5 separate regions of the Homo sapiens genome follow, and regions 1, 2, 3 and 4 are each linked to region 5. Evidence: promoter capture Hi-C in 16 types of primary human blood cells and fetal thymus (Javierre and others, 2016). All regions are on one chromosome and are shown on one strand. The core of a region is centred on a gene start or on the middle of the fragment in contact, and the rest is flanking DNA. Distances in the headings are between cores, read along the strand shown. Region 1 holds the start of KRTAP10-11 (keratin associated protein 10-11). Region 2 holds the start of KRTAP12-2 (keratin associated protein 12-2). Region 3 overlaps TSPEAR (thrombospondin type laminin G domain and EAR repeats). Region 4 holds the start of TSPEAR (thrombospondin type laminin G domain and EAR repeats). Region 5 holds the start of TSPEAR-AS2 (TSPEAR antisense RNA 2).

Evidence for each region. Contacts are between HindIII fragments. The CHiCAGO score rates a contact against its expected background, and 5 or more counts as called.
Region 1: a contact is called between the fragment with the promoter of KRTAP10-11 here and the fragment with the promoter of TSPEAR-AS2 in region 5, in 3 of 17 cell types (naive CD8 T cells, total CD4 T cells and naive CD4 T cells). The highest score is 5.5, in naive CD8 T cells.
Region 2: the fragment with the promoter of KRTAP12-2 here is called in contact with the fragment with the promoter of TSPEAR-AS2 in region 5 in 5 of 17 cell types (naive CD4 T cells, naive CD8 T cells, total CD4 T cells and 2 more); the score reaches 10.3 in naive CD4 T cells.
Region 3: a contact is called between a fragment that was not itself captured here and the fragment with the promoter of TSPEAR-AS2 in region 5, in 5 of 17 cell types (naive CD8 T cells, naive CD4 T cells, total CD8 T cells and 2 more). The highest score is 8.0, in naive CD8 T cells.
Region 4: a contact is called between a fragment that was not itself captured here and the fragment with the promoter of TSPEAR-AS2 in region 5, in 5 of 17 cell types (naive CD4 T cells, naive CD8 T cells, total CD8 T cells and 2 more). The highest score is 8.3, in naive CD4 T cells.

What each region holds. Positions count from the first base shown.
Region 1 is chr21:44,644,577-44,648,044 of GRCh38, forward strand. It overlaps KRTAP10-11 (keratin associated protein 10-11), which reads left to right and starts at 1,838. Exons shown (of 1, transcript NM_198692.3): 1 at 1,838-3,074. The coding sequence starts at 1,883. The coding sequence ends at 2,779. The region is part of intron 1 of TSPEAR (thrombospondin type laminin G domain and EAR repeats); the gene reads right to left. RefSeq lists an enhancer at 2,513-3,377. The HindIII fragment of the contact is 3,315 bases long and covers 1,739-3,468 here.
Region 2 is chr21:44,665,278-44,669,019 of GRCh38, forward strand. KRTAP12-2 (keratin associated protein 12-2) reads right to left here and starts at 1,650. Exons shown (of 1, transcript NM_181684.3): 1 at 912-1,650. The coding sequence starts at 1,609. The coding sequence ends at 1,169. The region is part of intron 1 of TSPEAR (thrombospondin type laminin G domain and EAR repeats); the gene reads right to left. The HindIII fragment of the contact is 11,754 bases long and covers 1-3,742 here.
Region 3 is chr21:44,689,142-44,692,896 of GRCh38, forward strand. All of the region lies in intron 1 of TSPEAR (thrombospondin type laminin G domain and EAR repeats), which reads right to left. Among named protein-coding and RNA genes, the nearest start is that of KRTAP10-12, 6.2 kb to the right of the region's middle. The HindIII fragment of the contact is 539 bases long and covers 1,693-2,231 here.
Region 4 is chr21:44,711,439-44,714,998 of GRCh38, forward strand. It overlaps TSPEAR (thrombospondin type laminin G domain and EAR repeats), which reads right to left and starts at 134. Exons shown (of 12, transcript NM_144991.3): 1 at 1-134. The coding sequence starts at 76. RefSeq lists an enhancer at 1-94. The HindIII fragment of the contact is 2,276 bases long and covers 259-2,534 here.
Region 5 is chr21:44,515,546-44,519,081 of GRCh38, forward strand. It overlaps TSPEAR-AS2 (TSPEAR antisense RNA 2), which reads left to right and starts at 1,670. Exons shown (of 2, transcript NR_026548.1): 1 at 1,670-2,290; 2 at 3,083-3,432. The region is part of intron 9 of TSPEAR (thrombospondin type laminin G domain and EAR repeats); the gene reads right to left. TSPEAR-AS1 (TSPEAR antisense RNA 1) reads left to right here. Exons shown (of 7, transcript NR_103707.1): 7 at 1-1,030. The HindIII fragment of the contact is 11,587 bases long and covers 1-3,536 here.

The DNA of each region.
Region 1 (3,468 bases), core at 588-3,087, 130 kb after region 5:
CTAATGCACTGGAATAAAATAGTCTTTTATTCAGAAAACTGAATGAACTGCCACCAATGAGCAGACTATCTGATGTCCAAGGAAACAAGAAAAAAACATTTAAAAACTCAAAGTAACATCATCAGAGTGAATGGATAACATATTTCATTCATCACAAGATGAAATAAAAAGTCATAAAAAGAGAGACCAGGAAAGATGAAATTATTATTAAAAATGGAAAAACACTTCGGAGATAAGTCTTTATATTGAAAGGCTCAATAAGTTCTAACCACTGAAAGTAAAATAATGCATTAGCCTAGAAACAAAAGCGTGACACTTTAGAACAATAAAAAGAAACCCAAATGCTCCCAGAGAGTTAAGGAAAGAGAGAAACTAAAAAATGACAAATGACCAGTATCAGACTGTCATCGGCAACACTGGACATCACAAAAAAATGGTGACATGTGTTCATCATTTTGAGGAAAAGTAATTTAAAACCAGAATTTTATACCCAGCTAAACTATCATTATAAATGTGAGGATAAAGTTGACATATTTTCAGACAAGCAAGGAATCTTAAAATGTATGTCCTAAAATCACCATATATGAAAAAGTACTTGATCTTTCACCAAGGCAAAATGAAAATTGAAATAATCCAGAGTGCAGCTTCAAATAAAACAAAGAGCCTCTGAGGGTGGCATGGAAGAGCTGAAGAGACAAAAATAAAGCTTGGATCCACCAGCTACTGAATCTCTGAGCATTCTCCTTACAAGGTGTGAGGGATCGAAGGGAGGGCCACTTAGCTTTTTTTTTTTTTTTTGAGACAGAGTCTTGCTCTGTCACCTAGGCTGGGGTGCAATGGTGCAATCTCAGCTCACTGCAACCTCCACCTCCTGGGTTCAAGAATTCTCCTGCCTCAGCCTAAGTAGCTGGGACTACAGGCACATGCCACCATGCCTGGCTAATTTTTTGTATTTTTAGTAGAGACCGGGTTTCACCATGCTGGCCAGGCTGGTCTCAAACTCCTGACCTCGTGATCCACCCACCTCAGCCCCCCAAAGTACTGGGATTAGAGGCATGAGTCACCACGCTCAGCCAGCTTCCTCTTATCTTATCGTCTGTGCCGTTTTTATTTCATATGAAGTGTACATTTTTCTCCATGTTTATGTTTTAAGATGCTAAAAGTAATAAAATATATCTAATCAGTCCAGAAACAGGATAGGTGGAAACAGAATTGCTTCCTTTGGAGAAACGTTCATCTCTAAAACCTCAACTCAACAAAAGCTTGCTTGAAATATTTTCCGGCCGGACGCGGTGGCTCACGCCTGTAATCCCAGCACTTTGGGAGGCTGAGGCGGGTAGATCATGAGGTCAGGAGTTCAAGACCAGCCTGGCCAAGATGGTGAAACCCCGTCTCTACTAAAAATACAAAAATTACAGCGTGCCTGTAATCCCAGCTACTCGGGAGGCTGAGGTGGGAGAATCGCTTGAACCCAGGGGGCGGAGGTTGCAGTGAGCTGAGATCGCGCCACTGCACTCCAGCCTGGGTGACAGAGCAAGACTCCCTCTCAAAAAAAAAAAAAAAAAAAAAAAAAAAAAAGGAAATATTTTCCACCACATTTCTGTGGCCAAAATAAAAACTGATGAAGAAACAGAGCCCTGCGACATACATACCAGTTTAATAAGGGAAAAACAAAGAGATAAACCAGCATGAATGATGCATCTCCAGCCACCAGCTGTAAACACCAACAAGGAAGAAAAGCTTGTGGAGCCTCCTGTTGGGACAACACATGCCAGGGAGGGATTTAAAAGCCCCACAGCCCTGAGCACCTCACTCACTCACTCACACACACACTCACACACTCACTTACACCTCCCCCAGCTCACCTCCTCCCCACCCCAGCATGGCCGCGTCCACCATGTCTGTCTGCTCCAGCGCTTACTCCGACTCCTGGCAGGTGGACGACTGCCCAGAGAGCTGCTGTGAGCCCCCCTGCAGCGCCCCCAGCTGCTGCGCCCCGGCCCCCTCCCTGAGCCTGGTCTGCACCCCAGTGAGCTGTGTGTCCAGCCCCTGCTGCCAGGCGGCCTGTGAGCCCAGCGCCTGCCAATCAGGCTGCACCAGCTCCTGCACGCCGTCATGCTGCCAGCAGTCTAGCTGCCAGCCGGCTTGCTGCACCTCCTCCCCCTGCCAGCAGGCCTGCTGTGTGCCTGTCTGCTGCAAGACTGTCTGCTGCAAGCCTGTGTGCTGTGTGCCTGTCTGCTGTGGGGCTGCTTCTTCGTGCTGCCGGCAGTCTAGCTGCCAGCCAGCTTGCTGTGCCTCTTCCTCCTGCCAGCCGGCCTGCTGTGTGCCCGTCTGCTGCAAGCCTGTGTGCTGTGTGTCCACCTGCTCTGAGGATTCCTCTTCATGCTGCCAGCAGTCTAGCTGCCAGCCAGCTTGCTGCACCTCCTCCTCCTACCAGCAGGCCTGCTGCGTGCCTGTCTGCTGCAAGACTGTCTACTGCAAGCCCATCTGCTGTGTGCCTGTCTGCTCTAGGGCTTCCTCTTCACGCTGCCAGCAGCCTAGCTGCCAGCCAGCTTGCTGCACCACCTCCTGCTGCAGACCCTCCTCCTCTGTGTCCCTCCTCTGCCACCCCGTGTGCAGGTCCACCTGCTGTGTGCCCGTCTCCTCCTGCTGTGCCCCCACCTCCTCCTGCCAGTCCAGCTGCTGCCGCCCGGCCTCCTGCGTGTCCCTCCTCTGCCGCCCCGCAAGCTCCCGCCTGGCCTGCTACAGCCTCTGCTCAGGCAAGAAGTCCAGCTGCTGAGTGCTCAATCCTTGTCTCCTGCTGACTGTGTCTTTGCTGCCAAGCAGGATTCTCCAGTCTCAGGAGCCCCTGGAGTCCTCAGAATCCACCAGCTCCATCAGTAGCCACAGAGCTGCTGCCTGAAGGGGATTTTGAGCGCGTCACACTTTCCTCCCCACTGTCTGGGAAGAGACAACCCACAAATCCCTCAGCAGGTGGACTGTGGCTTTCTGGAGCCCCCTTCTCCAAATGTGTTGCTTATACCCAATGTGACAAAGAAGAACTGCTCTAATCAATAAATTCTTGAGTCAGGAAATACGGGCTGGTGTGCACTTTCTGCTCTTCCCCTGAGCCCCTCTGCCTACTCCAAATTTGGGGTGTGGGACCCACTGTCTTGTTAAAGGCAGACAGGACAGTGTCTCTCATTCCGAGATCAAACACTTGGAAGACAGCAGGCTTTGAAAGCAAATGTGATCAGCTCCACACTCTTCCTGCAGCCAAAGCCCTGCCCACAGGGGATGAGCCTCCAAGCTGAGCCAGGGAGGGGAGCAGAGCTGAGTGGGCTCGGCCTCTGGTGAGCTTTGGGCCACCCGCCCATGCCTGTCCCCTGCCAGTCCAAGCTAAAGCTGAGTCGGGAAGAAGCAGAAATCCCGTTCAGTTGGGACCTGAGAGCCCCAGGCACCGTGCTGGCCTCGTGGTGTGTGGGCCGT
Region 2 (3,742 bases), core at 400-2,899, 150 kb after region 5:
AGCCAGTAGTGAGAACGTTCTTCAGGGGACAGTTCTGGGCTATGCTATCTGGAATAGCAGACTCCTGGGGCAAGAGGGCTGGCCCATCTACTGGGGAACGTTTAACCTGAGACAGTCACAGCAGAGCCCCCCAGGAGGGGAATACAGCCCAGACAGGGGAAATGCAGAAGAATGCTACCAGCACAACGCAGACTGGGAAAAGCAAGTTCCAGATTACATTCTGAATAATTTCCTTTTCATATCACCAGAAATTACTAAATTAGAAAACACCCATTTCAGGAATACATAGAGATATGACTCAACTCTATTTTTTCTAGAAAGTAACAGAATAAGGAGCACACAATCCCAACAGTGGCTGCCCCAAGAAGTTCTTGGTAAATTATTGATGATGTTCTCATTTCTATGTCAGGCAGTGGGTTCATGCGGGTTTATTATATTAGGATCCTCAGTAATTGATCATCAGTCAATCAATAAAAACCAAGCCTTTGTGGACCAGTGATGGGAGTGTGTGCCGCAGAACTAATCCAGTTCTGTAAACTTGAGATCCTCCGCGACCTGGGAAACAGGACGTCCACCAACCACATCAGAAAACCCAATTGTCAATGCTCTGAGGCTTTGGCCATCAGTGCAGGGCTTGTTGGCCTGGAGCAGGAGTGGACAGCCAGTGGGGAAGCGAGACCACTCTACCACAGGCGGGTAAGTCACTTCTGTGGCCACTGCACCTGGGCCCCAGGAGCCCTGGGAGAGACCACATGGGCATCTGCAGCTGCGCCCTCCACCCGGGACACCACCTTCTGATGAGCACTGGGTGAAGGGATCACTGAAGAGGGTTTAGCAGCAAATTCTATGTAATCAGCAGAATAGATAGCAGGGAGTATGGAAATAAAAAAGAAAGACCAGAAATGCAGAGCTGCATGGGGAAAGCTGGTTTATTTGGCTCTCATGGGGTCAGAGAATGACTCTGGGACCCCAGACTTCCCTGGGGGGATGGGCAAGGTCAGCAAGGGCTCCAGATCATTCTGTCACATTCTCAATCCAGAATTCAGAGGGTTCAACTGAGCATGCTTTTCACCTGCACCATGTGCAGAAGACCAACTGAGGACTCATCCAGGGAGTGTACAGGTGTGGCCTCATCTGCACTGGGAGCAGCGGGTCTGGAGATTCATGCTCAGCAGCAGGAAGAGATACTGTAGGAGATGGGTCTGCAGAGGACGCTGGTGCAGGAGGGCTGGCAGCACCCAGAGGACTGGCAGGACGGAGCCGCATACACGACAGGCCTGCAGCTCACAGGCACGCACAGGGAGGACTGGCAGGAGGGGGCTGCACACACAATGGGCCTGCAGCTCACAGGCACACACACAGAAGACTGGCAGCTCACGGGCACGCACACAGCTGACTTGAAGCTCATGGGCACACACACAGAAGACTGGCAGCTCACGGGCAGGCACACGGCTGGCTTGAAGCTCACGGGCACACACACGGAGGACTGGCAGCCCACAGGCACACAGCAGGATGCCTGGCAGGAGCTGGGCACACAACAGGCTGGCTGGCAGGGGCTGGGCGCGCAGCAGGCTGGCTGGCAGCCCGAGGAGCAGCTGGTATGACACATGGTGGCGTGTGGCTGGATAAGGTCGAGGCAGAGGGCAGTGATGTCTGGGGACGGCCTCCCTGGGCAGCCTTTATACCTGGGCCCAGGCATCCCCACAGCACAGAAGCACACCTGTCTTCCTTGTTTTTCTTCCTCAGTGCTGTCTCCTGGAGCTTAATTTTCTGTTGTAGGTGTCTCTGGGTTTTGTTTGGCCCTTAGCTTCATGACTAATTGCACCTTCTTCGAACTCTTGGTATGCTTGGAAACCTGCCAGAGTGTTTTACTGGCTTCATCAAGATTCTTCCTTGTTCTTTAAAATTTTACCTGAGTTACTTTTGTGAGATTCCAAAAACTCAGATCTCCAGATTTTTTTCCTCTCTGTGTGATGATGGTCCTTAAACCACAGAAGTTTACACTCCTCTCATGGCTCAGGAAGGCTCCACAGTCAATGTGAGGTAGAACAGGACGTGTCTAGCTGATCTGTGGGTGTCCTGAGAGCTTAGAGCTGGATGAGAGCTAGCAGATGGAGGAAGAACATGGAAATCACTTGTCCATAGGATGAGTGGGGACAAAGGGTGTGGGTCACAGAGAACTTCTTGTGAGTGGTGACCATGGATCTTTGTCTTGAGAAATCCTCCTAGTTAAGAACCAAGATGAGACAACACCACTGGCCCTCATGCATGGAGACACAGCTCTAAGGAAATCAAGCTGGTCCAAGCATGTTCCCAGGGAAGCATGTGAGGCCAGTGAAGGGTCCCATGGACAGCCACAGCAGGATATGTGTGAGCTGAATATAGAAGGTTCCAAGGGCCAGAATGACTTCTGGGTATGTTCAGCAGAAAGCCATGTGCACCCTGTACTGCAGGGACAGTAGAATCTCTGAGCCTACAGATGTCAACACCAGATCACTTGGAACTTGGCATCATGATAACAGAATGAAGGAAAAAACCACGTGATCATCTCAATTGATATAGAAAAGGCATTTCACAAAATTCAAGATTCTTTCATGATGACAACAATCAACAAACTAAGAATAGAAGAAAACTACCTCAACACAATACAAGCCATACATGAAAGACCCACAGCAAGCCTCATACCCACTGGTGAAAAACTGAAGGCTTTTTCTCTAATATTGGGAACAAAGCCAGCATAGTACTAGAAGTTTTACTAAGAGCAACTAGGCAATTGTTTTTAAAAGGAAGAAAGAAAGAAACAAAAAGCATCCAAATTGAAAAGCAAGAAGTAAAGTTAGCTGTGTTCACAGATGACATGATTTTTATATGTAGAAAACTCTAAATATTCCACACACAAAAATTTTAGAATAAATGAATTCAGCAAAGTAGCAGGATACAAAAGCAAAACACAAAAATCAGTTCTATTTCCATAAACTAACAAGCATAATCTCAAAAGGAAAGTACAATAACAATTCCATTTACAATACATTAAAAAGAACAAAATACTCAGGAGTTAACCAAAGAATTAAAATAATTGTGTAACAAAAACTACAAAACGTTGAAAGAAATTAAAGGCAACAGAAATAAATGGAAACACATCCCATGTTCATGAATTGGAAATTAATATTGTTAATATGTCCATACTAACCAAAGCAATCTACAGATTCAATGCAATCCCTGTCAAAATCCCAAGGACATTTCTTGCAGAAATAGAAAAACCCATCCTAAAGTTTATGTGGAGTCTCAAGGGACCCTAAATAGCCAAATCAATCTTAAGAAAAGAATAGAGCTGGAGGAGTCACACTTTCTGATTTCAAAACTTACTACAAAGCTACACTAATCAAAACTGTGGTACTGGCATAAAGACCAATATATAGACTAATGGAATAGCATAGAGAGCCCAGAAATAAACTCTCACAACTACAGTCAAATAATTTTCGGCAAGGCTGTCAAGACCTTTCAGTGAGGGAAGAACAGACTTTTTAACAAATGGCAGTGGGAAAACAGGATATCCACACACAAAAGATTATTTTTAACCCTTACCTCACACCATATACAAAATTAACTCAAGATCAAAGATAGAGAATCTCAGTAGGGAAATTGAAACTATTTTTTAAATGGGAATGCTAGAACTAAAATGTACAATAGCTGATATTTTAAAATCCACATGATAGACGTAAATATAGAATGAGATTGAAGA
Region 3 (3,755 bases), core at 712-3,211, 170 kb after region 5:
AGCAAGACCAAGATAAACTAACATATCACTGCACCCAGGGGAAACCAATGGTTTAAGGAACTTAAAAAATCCTAAATACGGCCGGGCACGGTGGCTCACGCCTGTAATCCCAGCACTTTGGGAGGCCGAGGCGGGCGGATCACGAGGTCAGGAGATCGAGACCATCCTGGCTAACACGGTGAAACCCCGTCTCTACTAAAAATACAAAAAATTAGCCAGGCGTGTTGGCGGGTGCCTGTAGTCCCAGCTACTCAGGAGGCTGAGGCAGGAGAATGGCGTGAACCTGGGAGGCGGAGCTTGCAGTGAGCTGAGATCATGCCACTGCACTCCAGCCTGGGCGACAGAGCGAGACTCCATCTCGAATAAAAAAAAAAAAAGTCCTAAATACACTCAGATATTCAGGAAGATGTTACATCTACCAAACAAGGACAAGATGCTTTGAAAATGAACAATTAGAACAATGATCCCTAAAATGTCACAGATATTAAACATCTCATTGATATTTAAAATTAAACAGAGAGGCTTGAAGGTGAGTGTATTAGGGTTCCCTTAGAGGGACAGAATAGAATGAATATATATATATATATATATATATATATTTTGGGGGGGGTTACTAAGTATTAACTAACATGATCACAAGGTCCCACAATAGGCCGTCTGCAAGCTGAGGAGCAAAGAGATCCAGTCTGAGTCCCAAAACTGAAGAACTTGGAGTCCAGTGTTCAAGGGCAGAAAGCATCCAGCACAGCAGAAAGATGTAGGCTGGGAGGCTAGGCCAGTCTCGCCTCTTCACATTTTTTCTGTCTGCTTTATATTCGCTGGCAGCTGATTAGATGGTGCCCACTCAGATTAAGGGTGGGCCTGCCTTTCCCAGCCACTGACTCAAATGTGAATCTCCTTTGGCAACACCCTTACAGACACTCCCAGGATCAGTACTTTGCATCCTTCAATCCAATCAAGTTGACACTCAGTATTAACCATCACCATGAGGTTGAGAAATCGCTCTGATTTGGAACAAAACGTCAAAGAGATAAAAAAGAAATGAGGAAAAAATACCATAAATGACTGATCTAGTGAATGTAATCCCTGATGTGTGGGAGTCCCACAAAGCGGGACAGTGAGAATGATGAGCGGATGCACAAATAAACTCCTAAAGAGGAGCATTTCCCAAGGCTAAAGACACAGTCTTCAGGCTGAAAAGAACCAAGTGATGCCAAGAAAAATGAACGGAAAAATCCTAGATATGTCCTCTGTTGAAATGATATAACATCAAAGATAACAAGTGGTTCCCATGGGCTTCCAGAAAATCAAACAAACAAACAAATGAACAAGTCACCCACAAGCAATAAAAATCAGATTAGCATCAGACATCTCATCAGCAGCACTGAAGGCTACAGACTCACAGAACAACACTCATGATGTCCGGGAGGTCAGCATTCAGCCCACGCTTTCAAAGATGAGCATGCTGTAAATAAACAGGTTAAACAGAAGATAAGCAGTTCTTAAGATAAGCAGTAAACATGACAGCAAATTATTAACCATAAAACTATTAAGTAAGCATATGTGTTTTTCTAAGGCTAAGTAGCATGTATTTTATCCTCTGGGGGTGTGGTCATTTGCTTTTCTACATTTTTGTTTGTCTGTTTGTTTATAGAGAAGGGGTGGTCTTGCCATGTTGTCAGTCTAGCATCAAGCTTCTGGGCTCAAGTGATCCTTCCACCTCAGCCTCTCAAGTAGCTGGGACTACAGGTATGCACCACCATGCCAGGCTCTTTTCAAAATATTTTAAAGTAGTGGAAATATTTTTTCAAACTGAATCTGACCTAGAAGTCAAGTCTGTAAAACAGATTAAAACACAGCTTCTCTAATTTAAAGTGGGATGGAGAATCCAGACACCTATTAGTTTGTCCTCCTCCCCTCCCTTCCCTTCATCTCCCCTCGCCTCCTCTCCCCTTCTCTCCTCTCTCCACACTTCTCTCTCTCTCCCCAGCTCACCCCCTTACCTAGGTAACATCTGAAATGTCTCCTAAGAACATGATTTTACAACCTTGTTGCTTTGAGTCCCTCTCTCTCCCCAAGCTCTAAGAGATTACGGAATTAGCATGTGCATCATTAGGCCAGGGAACAGAGCTGATAGCAAAGAATGGCACTCACCCCTATGTCTCTAACGTATAACTGTTAACAACATATGTTGTATCAGCCATTACTCACAGCTGACTTTCTCTATAATAAGCTTATTTTTTCAAGAATCCTTATGTCCCCATCCGTACACTAAGACCCTAAGAACTGAGAGACAGAACATCAAGGACCTATTCATCCATATTGTTCCAATTGCAAAAATGCATGAGGACATTATGTATTGATAAAAGATTCAACTCATCAAAGATATGAGAATTAGAAACATATATGCACCATACAAAGAGTCCCCACATATATGAAGCAAACATTGACAGAATTCAAGTGAGAAATAGTTCTACAATAGTTGGAGACTTTAATATTTCATTTTCAATAATGAACAGAACATCTAGTCAGAAGGTCAATAGGAAATAGAGAACTGAACCCACTATAAACCAGTTACTCACAAAAGATATGTATAGACACTCCACCCAACAACAGCTTTACTGGTGAATATCACCAAACATTTTTTTAAAATTTAACAAAAACCTCCTCAAGTTGTGAAAGAAAAAAATAGAAGGATCACTTTCTAACTCACTCTGTGAAGCAAACATTATGCTGATACCAAACCCACATAAGACATCAAAAGAAAAGAAAATCACAGACGAACATGACTTGTAAGTACAGATGCAAAAATTCTCAACAAAATACTAGCAAAGTGATTCCAACAGCATATTAAAAGGATTATATACCATGACCAAGTTGGATTTATCCCAGGAATGCAAAGATAGCTCCAGATTAAAAATAATCAATGTAGTATACCACACGAAGAGAATGAAGTGAAAAAACCCACATGATCTCAATTAACAAAGAAAAGGCTTTGACAAAGTCCAACACCATTTTATGATTTTAAAACACTCAGAAAACTAGAAATAGAAGGGAATTTCCTCAACATGCTAAACAGCATGTATGAAAAACCCACAGCTTGCATTATACTTGACAGTGAAAGACTGAAAGCTTTCCCCCTAAGATTAGGAACAAGACAGGATGTCCCTTTTCACCACCAATATTCAACATTGTACTGGAAGTTCTAGCCAGAGCTATTAAACAAGAAAAATAAATAAATAAAAGTCATTAAAATTGGAAAGGAAGAAGTAAAATTATTTCTATTCACGGGTGACATGATCATGTCTATAGAAAATCCCAAAGAATCCACAAGAAAGCTACTAGAGCTTTATTAAAGAATTCACCAAAGTTTCAGGGTACAAGATCAACATACAAAAATCATGCATGTTTCTATACACCAGCAATGAAAAATCTGATAAGGAAATTAAGAAAAACAATTCCATTTCAATGGCATCCAAAAGAATAAAATACCTAGTAACAAATATAACCAAGGAGGTAAGAGACTTGTACAATGATAACTGTAAAACATTGCTGAAAGAATTAAAGAAGACCTAAATAAATGGAAAGACATCCATGTTCATGGATTAGAAGACTTAATGTTGTTAAAATGGCAGTACTACCCAAAGAAATCTACAGATTCAATGCAGTCCTTATCAAAATTCCAAGTCTTTTTTTTTTCCAGAAATGAAAAAGCTGATCTTCAAGCACATATGGATTATAGGAACTCAGAATAG
Region 4 (3,560 bases), core at 147-2,646, 200 kb after region 5:
AGGGCTCCCAACCCTGCGTGCCGTGGCCGGGGGCCGCCAGGGGCAGCACAAAACACAGACTCAGCAGGGCAGACATGAGGGGCTTGGGTGCCAAGCTCCATCCAGGGCTCCGCTCAGCCTGCAGGGAAGTGGCTGCTCCTCAGACGTCTGCGTCAGCCTTTCCAGGGGCGGCCGCGGGGCCCCCGGGGGTCACTGCGACGGCCACATGCCAGCGGCCTAAGGCGGGGACAGAGGTGGCCCTGGCGGTCGCAGTGGGGAAGCTTCTGGTTGCTGCCTGCGGGAGGCAGGTGGCCCCTGGCAGGTTGGGCTGCAGCCGCTGGTTTATCTCTTCATTTCCCTGATGGGCTTGGGCCCTGCGTGCAGGTGACAGGTGATAACAATCTCGGCCCGGCCTGGGATTAGTCGCTGGCAAAGCACACTTTCCAAAAGGAAAGACAGAAATAGATCGTGCTGCGGAGAGCTGAGAACAAGCCAGAGAAACTTAGGAGACCCGTTTCCCTCAGGCGCAGGCTCCCTGGGCTCACCGCCTTTTAGGACCAGGGGCACAGGCGACCATGGCAGGCCGGGAGCGGGTGGGGCGGGTGCACTCTGGCTGGGGGTTTGGGCAGCAGGTCCCCACAGTCTGCTGGAGGGTCCCAGAGGCAGGTCGGGGCTCTGCTAGGGGGTCCTAGAGGCAGGTCGGGGCTCTGCTGTGGTGGGGAGGGGGGGTCCCAGAGGTAGGTCCTGTGCTCTGCGGGGGGTGGGGGGTGGTCCTGGAGGCAGATCCCAGGCTCTGCTGGGGGTCTAGGCGGCAGGTCCCGGGCTCTGCTGGGTCCCCCGGCGGCAGCGGCCGTCCATCCCCAGGAGGGGCTGGGCTCCCTCGGAGGGCTTTTTATCTGGTGCCCAGCCCTCCCGAGGGTGTGTGGGTTTGTCAACTGTTGGGTTTCAGGAATTTCCCTCTGGAGGGAAGTCGGTCCTTAAAGGGAACAGCTAATGAGAAGGAGTGGGTGAGTGTCCCTCAGGGAAGGGGCACGGCCATGGTCACTCATCCAGAGCCGAGGACCCTCGCATCTGACCTCTCGACACTGCAATGGGCATGCCACTCGAGGGGAGCAGCTATTAACTAGAAGTATTCTTTTTACAAAAGTGCCCTGCCCCCCTACCCTCTCCAAACAGCACTGAACGCAGCATTCTTGCAGAAATCTCCAACGCAACTGGGTGCTGCGTTTCTGTGCCTGGTGTGGAGGCCCTGGCAAACTGGTCTGAGGCCGATGGCTTTCCCTGGTTCACAGGCCCACAAAGTGCACACACTCCTGCTAGTTTCAGAAGGAAGCCCCCACTCTGGGACCTCTGACACAATGAGTTTTCCAAGAGCATAGACCCTGTCATTAGGGCTTGTGGAGAGAGACAGAGATGGAGGGAGGGAAGGAGAAAGGGGCCGAAGAGAGGGACAGAGACTGGGGAAAGACCTAGAGGGAGAGGGAGAAAGTGGGGAGGCACAGAGAGCTCCTGGGGCTCTGGAGGCTCTTCCCATAAACAGCCCCTGCGATGGGACAGGCTCATTCTGTCTCCCTCTCGCTTCCTCTTTTACCCGGCCCTGCCCCCAGGGATATTAATTCATAGTTAATATTAATTCACAGATATTAATTCGTAGTCCTATTTATGAGGCTTGAGTTAACTGGCATCATATGAAGGGAGGTTGAAGGTCTCCCATTATATGTGACTCCTCTTCCAGCACCCAAGTGAGCCCTGGGGTGGGGTGTGTCTCCCTCACCCCCCAGGACCCCCTGCCAGCTCCGGTGGGCATGCAGTGCCAGGACAGAGGCTTCCTGAGTGGGCTCCCCACCCCACTGGGGCTCAGCAGCTGGAAACGCTCCACATAGCACCATTCCTGACAACCCTAACCTAATGAGGGACGACGTGGTTCCTCAGAGGAGCGAAAGGCCTGATCGTTGTGTAAATGGAATAAATGGAGTCTTCCTCTTTTGTGTCCCAATCCATGAGAACTTTGTCCTGGGCCAGGCCGCTCCCAGGCCAGCTGCGGGTCACAGTGGCCTCTGAGACCACGCCCCTGAGGGGATGGGGACTCCCCCCAAATGATGGGCAGGTGGCACTCCAGAGCTAATTTAAACAATCACAATTAAGCTGCCTTGAACCCTTCCGGCAAAATTTTTCTTATGTTACATTTGATGCAGTAGCACTAGTAATAGCCTCAAAGATAACTAAGGGTGAGCCAGTGGAAATCCTCCTCACATACGAAACTTCACAAAGATGTGCTGAGCGCAGGAGGAAAGCTCAGAGTTCCCTCCTCTACAGCTCCCTGTGTGACCCTGGACAAGTCACTTACATTCTCCAAGGTTTAACTTCCACGTCTGTAAAATGTGCCTAGGAGGACACATGTGGTAGGGCTGTCCTATAAATTAAGTGATAGCTATAACGTACCTAAATCAGCATTTCTGGAACCACGACCCAGGGAACACCAGCTCCAAAATGCTCGATGAGAAAAAGCAGGTGCATTTGCAGGTGGACTCCACAGCCCCTTCCTCAGGGACACAAGCTTGGCTCACCCACGCGGAGCTCTGAGACATCAGTGATCAGAAGCCTGCTTAGGCTGGGCGAGGTGGCACCCGCCTGAAATCCTAGCAGTTTGTGAGGCCGAACTGGGAAGATTGCTTGAACCGAGGAGTTCAAGACCAACAGTGACAACATAGTGAGCCTCCATGTCTACAAAAAATTCTAAAAATTGGCTGGACGTGATGGTGTGCACCTATAGTGCCAGCTACTCAGGAGGCTGAGATTGAAGGATCACTTGAGCCCAGGAGGTGGAGGTTGCCGTGAGCCATGATCATACCACTGCACTCCAGCCTGGGAGACAGAGGAAGACTGTCGAGAGAGAAAGAAAGAGGAAGGAAGGAAGGAAGGAAAGAAGCAAGGGAGGGGAGGAGGGAGGGAGGCAGGGGAGGGGAGGGGAGGGGAAGGAGTCCCCACCCAAATCTCATGTCAAATTGCAATTCCCACATGTTGAAGAAGGGGCCTGGTGGGAGGTGATTGGATCATGGGGGTGGTTTCCAATGCTTTAGCACCATCCGTCTTGTGCTGTCTCATGATGGAATTCTCATGAGATCTGTTTCTTCAAAGGTATAGGGCATTCCCCTTTGCTCTCTCTCTCTCTCTCCTGCTCCACCTTGGTAAGATGTGCTGGCTTCCCCTTCACCTTCCGCCATGATTGTAAGATTCCTGAGGTCTCCTAGCCATGTTTCCCGTTAAGCCTGTGGAACTGTGAGTCAATTAAACCTCTTTTCTTCGTAAATTACCCAGTCTCAGGTAGTTCTTTATAGCGGTGTGAAAATAGACTAAGCAAGAAAGAAAGAGGAAAAGAAAAGAGAGAAATCCTCCACATCATGTGTATCAAAGTCTCATGGAGACGAATCCCCAGAACCCACTAAGAGAAATGCATGTGCAAAGAAGAAAGCATGTCCCTGCCATAACATCAGACATCAGAACTGAGCTTCACTCCCGAGAAGCAGGTTGGGTAAGTGCTGCATTGTTAACAAGGGAATTCACGGGGCACCAGGCCCTCA
Region 5 (3,536 bases), core at 420-2,919:
CCCTCCCCTTGGTTCCGGTGGTTCCATTTCTGCCCCTTTGCTGCTGGCCCCCTTCTGAGGATGCCCGTGCATCTCCAGGACCACTGCTCCAGTCCTTGGTGTAGATCAAAGCTGGCCTTCACACGCGGCCTGAAAATGTAGAGTGGCCGCCTTCTGGGCTGGGCTGCCACCTCCACCACATCACCCGTGACAGAAGCCCCGTGTTTTTCGGTAACCACGTTCCACGAACACCTCCCGACTGCCTTCCAGAACACACAAAGATCAACGAAGCTCAGAATCCAGTCCCGACGTCATTTCATGAAGAGCAGGTAGTCCATCAAAGGGATGGGCCCCATGAGTGAAGGGCTGAGACCCCACCATGGTGTGAGGCGTCCCAGGCACTCCCGTCACGGCCCAAACCAGGCTGCAGGCTCCATCCCCATGGGGCAGGCACAGAGGAGGCGATTCATGTGGACACAGGGACACCTGTGGACGCCCTGGCTCGGCCGCTTACCGCCGTGTGTTTGTGGCCAGGTCCCTGCTCCTGAGCCTCAGTTTCCACACCTGTGAGATGGGTCTGAGGTGGAATCGCCAACCAGCTGAGGATGCGCAGCCACAGACCACCTTCCAGAAATCTCCAAAAGGCTTTCCAAAACAGGAAAACAAGGAAGGCTGCCATCAGCAGGAATTCCAGGGCTTTCAGAATGAGGCTGTCAGGAGTGAAGGGAGCTGTGCTCCACATGCAGGGCAGTGGCCAGGGCTGCCAGGCCTTGTTTATCTGGGAGCGCCAGGCTGCCTGCCTGCACCTGGTCTGGGCACCTGAAGGCAGAGCTGCTCCTGCTTAGGGTCTGTGGCAACTGTCCTCCTCAGTGGGTGCTGCTGGGAGCTCCTCTGATTCCTGGTGGGCGGCTTCTGGCCTCGCCTCTTCACCCACGGTGTAGGGTGTGGGATGGAGATGCAGGGCCTCTGCTCTCCTTCTCCCCTCCCCCAAGCAGCCTGGGTTGTACCTCCACTAATAAACACCAACACCCGCGCCCAGGGTGGGTTCGGCCACGGGGCGATTCTCTGAGTGACACATCAGGATCAGCTTCGTGTGGTCCTGACCTTACGGTAATGTCAGCCCCCAGAGCCAGGGGCCGGGCTATGGCACCACCCACCCAGGCGATTTCTATGTCGGGATGACCAACTGTGCCATCCCTGGGGCAGTCCCCCATGCCAGGCAAACATTCTCCTTTCATGCTTAAAATCACAGGACGGGTTCACCTGCTTCGTCCTTGGACCTGTGATCTATGTACGCTGCTTTTCAACAAGTTTCTAGTTGTCCCCTCCTGGGTATGGCCCTCCCCTCCTTCCTTCCCAGAGGAAGAAAACACACCAGCTCTGCATGCGAGAACGCTCCCAGCTCTCCCATCTTCCCATCGCAGGAGCCCCTCGCTCCTGCACCCTGGGGCTTTCGGTCCTGTCCCACCTCAGCGGCTGCTGCACAGGAAGGCCGTCCTGGCCTGGCCCCTGTGTCTCTGCCTTCCTCGACTCCTGCAGTCTGTGCTTCTGTCACTCCTTCAGCACGCCATCCCTGGACACACTTTGTGCTCCGTGGACTCCACAGCCCCCAAACCCCCTCTTATGCCCTCCCTGACCCCAGACCATCTGGGCTGGCTTCTCTCTAGGACACATACCAGTTCTCATTCCAGAACTTTCCTTATGGTCATCTTTGGGTGGAGCCACCACTTCCAGTTCTGATCTTCTCATTCTGGTTGAGTACCTGGGCTTGCCAGTGCACCCCCCAGGAACACCGCCTAGTCCAGGGCTCCCACAGGTCTCAGACTGACAGGAGACTGGGTCATATGACCAGCACTAGCCAATGAGCTGTGAGTACACGTGACACAGGGACAAGCTGGGTCATGTGACTGGCACTAGCCAATGAGCTGTGAGGACGTGAGCACAGGTCCAGCTAGGCTGGGTCATATGACAAGCATTAGCCAATGAGCTGTGAGGACACGTGAGTACAGGTCCAGCTAGGCTGGGACATGTGACTGGCACTGGCCCATGGGCTGTGAGCACAGGTCAGGTCAGCCCCTTCCTGCTGCTTCCCACCGTGTGTGCTCCTTGTCTGACTTGATATGAGAACTAACCCAATATGGCAGGAAGCCACTGACATGTGGGAGCCGTGCATGGCAGTGGCCAGCGTCCTTGTCCTGCGGGGGCTCTGTGGACATCACTCGCCTTCAGAACACTGAGCCCTCCTACCTCCTGATATCCAGGGCTGCCGATGGGAAATCCCAGGCTGCCGCGGCTCCTGTGTGCTTTGAAGGTAACTTTCCTTTGCTCTCGCGCTCCTTGGGCTCAGCGCCCTTTCAGTCTGATGAGATCTGGGCGGTTTTCTTCAAGCCTTCTCTGACAATTCCATCACTGTCCTCACCCTCTTCTTTTTTTTCTAGAACTTTGGTTAGCCAGATACAGACTCTCCTGGTTTGATTCTGTCTCTTTTCATTCTACATTCTAGAAGATACTCTTAACTTTATATTTCAGTCATGTTAATGAATGTCTTCTTTTAATGCCAGCAATTGCATTTTTAATGTCCAAGCTCTCTGTCTCATTAGTAGCATTTTTTATTTCGTAAGTGCAGTATCATCTTGAATACTTCTGAAGACAAGTATAACTTAAAAAAATTCCTTTCTGTTTCTAGAGCTAGCTCAGTTTCTTTCAGCCTTTTTCTTTAGCCTGACTCCTGCAGTTTTCAGGATTTTTGTCAAACATCCGGGGACCCTTAGCTGGAGAGGATGGCATGGGTGACACGCAGCTGGCCAGGTACGCTCTGGGGCACTGGGGCATCTTGAGCACCTTGGTGCAGTGTCGTGAAGAAGACACTGTAAATTGGACTTGGTGTTATCACAGGGGCTTTAGGATCACGGTGTTGGTAGATCTAGGATGATAATCTCCAAAACGCACTCCCCAACCCACTGCAGGGATCCTTTCTCTTGTCACCTCACTTTGTGATTTAGAATGCAGGACCTCCAGGACAGCAGCCTCTCCGTGGCACAACAGCTGTTAGGAGACCTTGCCTAGTTGACGAGAAAGTCACTTGTGGTGCCTTTCCATCCAGGGTGCGCGACTCTGCTCTCAAGACCCCCTGGAGGCCCGCCCCCTGCCCCCCACCAGCTCATTCGTTAGATGATTGGAAGTGACTGCCTACGTCTTCTTTCAGGATAAAGCCTCAAGTCCTGCAACTATTCCTTGTGTGATAACGTTTCAAATCCCTTCCTGGTTCTGGCAAAGCTCCTCAAACATGCTCCAGTGTGCTGGGGCTCTGCATGTGTGAGCCTGGGGCCAGCAGGGCGCACGTTCATGTCAGGGCACCAGTATGATCCTGATGACACATGACTGGTGTGGAGCCCCGGGTGTTTCCACGGGAACTGCTGTCGGCCGGATTGCTGTGCTCTGCAGCTGTGCCCAAGTCCCCAAGCCACCCTTTCGTTGCTGCTCGATGTCACCATTTGCTTTTGTTGTTTTTTTTTTGTTTTTGAGATGGAGTCTCACTCTGTCGCCCAGGCTGGAGT